2 separate regions of the Homo sapiens genome follow, and region 1 is linked to region 2. The links are contacts of gene promoters, found by promoter capture Hi-C in blood cells and fetal thymus (Javierre and others, 2016). All regions are on one chromosome and are shown on one strand. The core of a region is centred on a gene start or on the middle of the fragment in contact, and the rest is flanking DNA. Distances in the headings are between cores, read along the strand shown. Region 1 has its middle 33 kb from the start of YY1AP1. Region 2 holds the start of KRTCAP2 (keratinocyte associated protein 2).

Evidence for each region. The method cuts DNA at HindIII sites, captures the fragments that hold promoters and counts their contacts. A CHiCAGO score of 5 or more calls a contact.
Region 1: a contact is called between a fragment that was not itself captured here and the fragment with the promoter of KRTCAP2 in region 2, in 1 of 17 cell types (endothelial precursors). The highest score is 5.3, in endothelial precursors.

Annotation. Positions count from the first base shown.
Region 1 is chr1:155,654,180-155,657,017 of GRCh38, reverse strand. No RefSeq gene overlaps it. Among named protein-coding and RNA genes, the nearest start is that of YY1AP1, 33 kb to the left of the region's middle. The HindIII fragment of the contact is 1,431 bases long and covers 722-2,152 here.
Region 2 is chr1:155,171,903-155,174,868 of GRCh38, reverse strand. It overlaps KRTCAP2 (keratinocyte associated protein 2), which reads left to right and starts at 1,565. Exons shown (of 5, transcript NM_173852.4): 1 at 1,565-1,648; 2 at 1,977-2,131; 3 at 2,241-2,304. The coding sequence starts at 1,645. TRIM46 (tripartite motif containing 46) reads right to left here and starts at 1,020. Exons shown (of 10, transcript NM_025058.5): 1 at 840-1,020. The coding sequence starts at 902. RefSeq lists silencers at 482-776, 946-1,035 and enhancers at 785-1,293, 1,366-1,415, 1,616-1,715, 1,294-1,802, 1,906-2,185. The HindIII fragment of the contact is 8,946 bases long and covers 1-1,711 here.

The sequences.
Region 1 (2,838 bases), core at 188-2,687, 480 kb before region 2:
CTGGACACTTCCTCTCCAGAAGGCAAAATATTAATGCAAGGAGGAAAATCCAGCCATCTTTTATGGTAGGCTGGGGAAAGGAAATATACCAATCTGGACGCTTCCTCTCCAGAGGCAAAATATTAATGGCACAGCATTTCATTAGCCAATCCGCTCCAGCCATTAGGCTCCAAAAGCTATAGATGATGCCACAGACTAATCAAAATCAACTTCTTGATACTGCCTTATGGTGTATAACAATCATGACCTGGAGGAAGGAAAAGGAATAAAGAAGAAGCAAGCCAAAATTACGATAGCCATCATTGGAGATGCCCTGAATGCCCAAAGAGTGCCCAAGGGAATCCCAATGGGCCATAAGGATAATGCCAGCAAAGGCTCTTGCTTCAAATGCAAGAAAAATGGGAATTGGGCAAAGGACTGTAGTAAGCCCCCACTGGGACCCTGTTGGCAGTACAAAGGCACCAGTCACAACCCCTGGTGCTGGAGAATTAACTGCCCCCTGTTACACAGAGGAGGTCAGTCAAAACTCTTAACAGTGCAAAAGGAGAAATTGATGAAAACTGATGGGGCCCAGGGCCTTCCTCACCACCCCTGCCCAGGAACATCATTCATTACTATTGAGGAGCCCTGGGTAACTCTGGACATGTTGGGCACCCAAATTTGGTTTCTTTTTGATACAGGGACAAATTACTTTGCCCTTACTACTTACGTAGGAAAAGCTTCCTCCCCATCCACAAGCGTTATGGGAATGGAAGGAGAGCCACAAAAAAGATTCTTTATTCCTCTTTTGACTTGCCAATTTGAGAAACAAATCTTCCAACAAGAATTTCTAGTAGTAACAAGCTGCCCAGTCCCCTTGTTGGGAGGGGATATTATAGTTAAAATAGGGACACTGCTACGATTTAGGCACCACCCAGCAAAATTGCTAATAGTAATGCAGACAATGTCCCAGACCACATTAATAAATAGGTCAACGCACTAGCATGGTATACTGGGAAACTGGGTAGGGCTAAAACAGAAATACACTTGGACAGTGCCCCTCCCTCAGGGCTTTCAGGATAACCATGTTTGTTTGTTTTTTGCACAAGCCTTGGGGATCTAAGGGATCTAAAATTGGAAAATGGAGTGTACTCTAGTATGTACATGACCTTCTTGTGTGTAGCCCAACCCAGGGGGTGACTAAAATACTATAAGAACCTTAAATTTCTCTGCAGATGGGATATAAAGTGTCCAAAAGGAAGGCTCAGATTGCCCACCAACGGGTTCAATATTTAAGGTGTATCTTAACACCCAGAGCCCAGCAAATATCCCCAGAATGAGTGCAAGCCGTATGTGGTTTGGAGCTCCTCCCACACCAAGCAACAGCTTCGTCGTTTTCTGGGGATGGCTGGGTTTTGCAGAAGATGGGTACCAAATTTTGGGCTCATAGCAAAACCCCTTTATGAAAGCAACAAGGGAGCCAGAAAATGAGCCAATTGAATGGACTTTGGAAATGAGAGAAGGCTTTATCAAGTTAAAACAGGCTCTCAGCCAGCCTCCCGCTCTTAGCATCCTAGACCTCACTAAGCCCTTGTATGTAGCAGAAGGGAAAGGCATAGCCATGGGAGTGCCAACTGCCTACTTCTCAAAGAAATTGGACACGGTGGCCAAGCTGCTTGCCGTCGATGGCAGACACTGCTATTTTAGTGGAAGAAGCCGCTAAAATCACCCTGGGTCAGCCACTGGAAGTATTAACCCCACATCAAGTCAATCCTAGAAATAAAAGGACACAACTGTATGATGGGGGAAAGGTTAACCAAATACCAGGCTATGCTCCTGGAAAATCTAGATGTGACCCTTAAAACCTGTAACACTGTGAATCCAGCTTGATTGCTGCCCACAGGCCCAATAATTAATCATTCCTGCGAGCAAGTTATTGCACATACATATGTTAGCCAGCCTGATTTAAAAGGTTGACCTCTCCCAGATTCAGAGGATGACTGGTTCACAGACCTCAGCAGCTTTATATCAAACGGGAACACTGGGCCAGATATACAACAGTAAATTACAATACAATTATTGAGGTCCAACCCCTGCCCCCAGGTATGTCAGCACAAAAAGCTGAGATCATTGCTCTTACTCGAGTTCTGACATTAGGAAAAGGGAAAAAGCTTAACATCTATACAGATTCCAAACATGCATTTCTCGTGTTTCATGCTCATGCTGCAATTTGAAAAGAAAGAGAAAGAGGACTACTAACTAGTAAATCTTCCACCATAAAGCATGGGTCTGAAATTCTTCAACTGTTGGAAGCAATACACTTGCCAAAAGCATAGCCATAATTCATTGTAGGGGGCATCAAAAGAACCTAACCCCTGTAACACAAGGGCACAGAAAGGCTGATAAGCCAAAGCCGCACTGCTCAGGGTGTAATCCCGACAAATTCTAGCACTGCTTCCTTTCTATGATTCCCCAATAGAACCTGAATATCCCTGTGATGTATTCAGGGATATTCGAAGTAAAGGAGGAAGATGGACACAAACAAGGATCCTGGTGGTATATAGTATCAAAAGTGTATCTCCCTCAAACAGCCCAATGGAGAATTATAAAAATCCTGCATGACTCTTTCCATATGTGAGGAGATGCCACTCTTGCCATGATAAACAGGCTCTTCATTGGGCCTGACTTAACTTCCGTGGTTAAGCAGGTCTGTCAAACCTGTTCACTGTGAGCATTCAACAACCCCAGGAACAAAATGCCTCCTCTAATAGAACCAGTCCGGAGAAGGGGCACTTCCCCAGGGGAAGACTGGCAATTGGATTTTACCCATATGCCAGCTTGTAGGGGATACAAGTTTTT
Region 2 (2,966 bases), core at 316-2,815:
TCCCCATCCTTCACTTCCCCATCGGTCTTACCAACCCATTCCCCTTCGCCCCCATCAGGCCCTCCCGCCCTCTCCCGCAGCGCAACCCGGTCAGCGGCACCCCCTTCTCCGAACTAGCGGGGGAATCAAGAGCCCCGCCTACTCGCCCCCTCCCCACCGGAAGTCCCCTCCCCCTCTTGGTGGCGAGAGTGGGGGTCCTCAGGCTATGCCCCACCCCCACACCTCACCTTGGTCCCTCTCTTCGCAGCCATCCCGGTCAGGGGCGCAGCTGACACAAAGGAGGGAGGAACAAGGAGGGGGGGAGGAAGTGGTGGGGGGGAACACGGTTGGCACCGCCCCTGGGAGAGCCAGGCACGGGTTGCCATGACAACCGCAGGCTCGGAAGCAGCCCTGAGTGGGGGTGCGTGGGGTGGGGTCTTGGGGAGGGGTCCAAATTGGGAACTGCACTGTGGGGCGGCTCCTACATCATCCCCCACCTGTCCTCAGTTTTCTTGGAAAATATCCAAGCTCACACGTCCCTCTTCTCATAACAGGGCCTTTCCCCTGAAGCCCCAGCCCCGGTGCACTGCTGGAGGCCACCCCAGCCCACCCGCTGCGTCTGGGCTGCTCCTAGCTCCTCCTCACGCTCCAGCACACCGACGCCTTCACGGCACTCACCTCCGGGCTGCTCCCGGGATTACCCTCTCATACCTGCATCCCGACCCTCCCAGCCGTTTCTGCCATCGCTAGCCCCCTGTCTACATCCCAGCATCTTCCTGGATCCCCACCTGTTCCAGGTCCCAGCTTGCCCCAGAACCCTATACGCCCCCTCCCCTTCCCTCGACCCCACCTTAACTCACACTGATGCGGACCAGTGCGTCCATGATGGAAGTGAAGGTCTGCATATCCTCACCCTCTGCCATGGCCCTACCGTGCCCGCCCGCCCCTGGGTGCCCGATCCCGGCTGCGGCTGCGAACCCCGGGCTTAATGCAGGAGCCCAGTGGGGGTGTGAGGAGGGCTGGGGGTTGAGGTGTCACTGCGCATGCTCCCGGGACCAGCCTCGAACAGCGCCCGTCGGGGTAGGGGGTGGGAAATAGTTCTCCCCACGTGGTTCTCGAAAGCCGGTCGGGGGGTTGGGGAATATGGAAAGGTATTTGACGGGGGAGCCATTTCTTACATTCTCATTTTTCATTGGCTCCTAATTTTACTCATATAAAGCGGGGGATTAGTTTCGGAGGAAAATGAGTTCCTGGTTGGGAGCACTAAATTTTAGGTTGGGAGATGTTGAGGCATGGGGCAGGGAGGTTTGAGGAACGTGCACTAGAGATGAAAGAAATGGCAAAGAAGACAGAGATGGGATAGATGCCACAGGCATGGGCCCAATGACTTAAAGAGATAAGTGCACCTTGTACAGAGTGGCAGCAGACGCACCAGGTACGAGGAAAGCCTGAGGACCAGGGCGGTGGCCGAGGATGCCCCCTCGACGCATTATTTCCTCCCTGTCGCAAGAGGGCGCTGCGTCCAGGCACTGAGAGGAAGAAAGAGGAGAACGCGAGGAGTAGCAAGTCCGCGGTAAGCGCTGACGCATGCGCATAGCTAACCGCACCCGGTTCAGCTCGCCTTTCTTGGCCAGAGGCGCCGGTTGGACTCACGGGCGGGGCATGATGGGTAACAGGACCGGTGGGGTCCCCAGGAAGTCCTAGAGGGGGTCGGGGTTTGGGTGGACAAGCTTTCCTCGTCCTCTCCCGACAGAGCTGACGTGTCCTGGGTTCCACCGGGAGCGGGCATTTCCACCGGACGGGAGGGTTCGGGGTGTCCGGGGCTGGGGAATACGTAGGGGTTGCCGCGCGGTGTGGGGAGTTGGGGCGTGTGGCTGCAGTCCCGGGAGTTCTTGGAGGGGGTCGGCCCACCGAGCTTCCGGACCGGCTGATCTGCCCGTAGCTTGCCGGAGGGAGGGCGGAGCCTGACTCTCCGTCCCTTCTCCCATCCCCTCCAGTGGTGGGTACGGGCACCTCGCTGGCGCTCTCCTCCCTCCTGTCCCTGCTGCTCTTTGCTGGGATGCAGATGTACAGCCGTCAGCTGGCCTCCACCGAGTGGCTCACCATCCAGGGCGGCCTGCTTGGTTCGGGTCTCTTCGTGTTCTCGCTCACTGTATCCTCCCTGCAGTTGGAGGGGGCGGGCCACGTAGGCATGTGCCCTTCCCCTTCCCCACACAGCTCTGTCCCCGTTGCACACCCTACTCCTTAACTCCCTCAACCAGGCCTTCAATAATCTGGAGAATCTTGTCTTTGGCAAAGGATTCCAAGCAAAGATCTTCCCTGAGAGTAAGTGAATATTGGAGCTTGAGTATTTGAACTTTCTCCTCTTTAACCTCCTGAAACATGATATTGAATTTCCAGATGCTTAGGTGAAAGGTTGTTAAGGAGAAATATATTTACTGAAGCTGTCTGAAGACAGATGACGCTTTTCGATTCTGCACCTTGTATAGCTCCTGGAGTTGGAGCTGGAAGAGAAGGCCTTTGAAAGCAAGAAACTTTGGTACCTTCTGGCCAGCTCCCAGGGAAGGTTTGAGGGGAACAGGCAAATTTGGGCTGATGTTTTGCATCTATTCGCTGGGAGGCGGTCCTTGTTCCCACCAGAAGAAGCAGCAGGACCAAGTTCACTATGGAGTTCTGATGTGAAGTTAACTCAATATTAGAGAATTCTACTTATTTGAGGGAATTGTGAAGAGCCTAAATACTAGAGGCACCAAATATCTATGGCAGCAGGAATCCTGACCAAATCAGAATAACTGTTAGATTATTTCCTGTTTGGAATAATTCTTGTTCAATTGCTCATGTAATCAAGAATTGATGATTCAGTTATTTATGGAGAATTAAGTTTATAAAGCAAATTAAGTGTCAAGGCCAGATTACTTAAGGAATGCCACGTGCTCAGAAATTCACAGCAGATGCAATCTCATGTAAAACCCTCATGTGGTAAAACA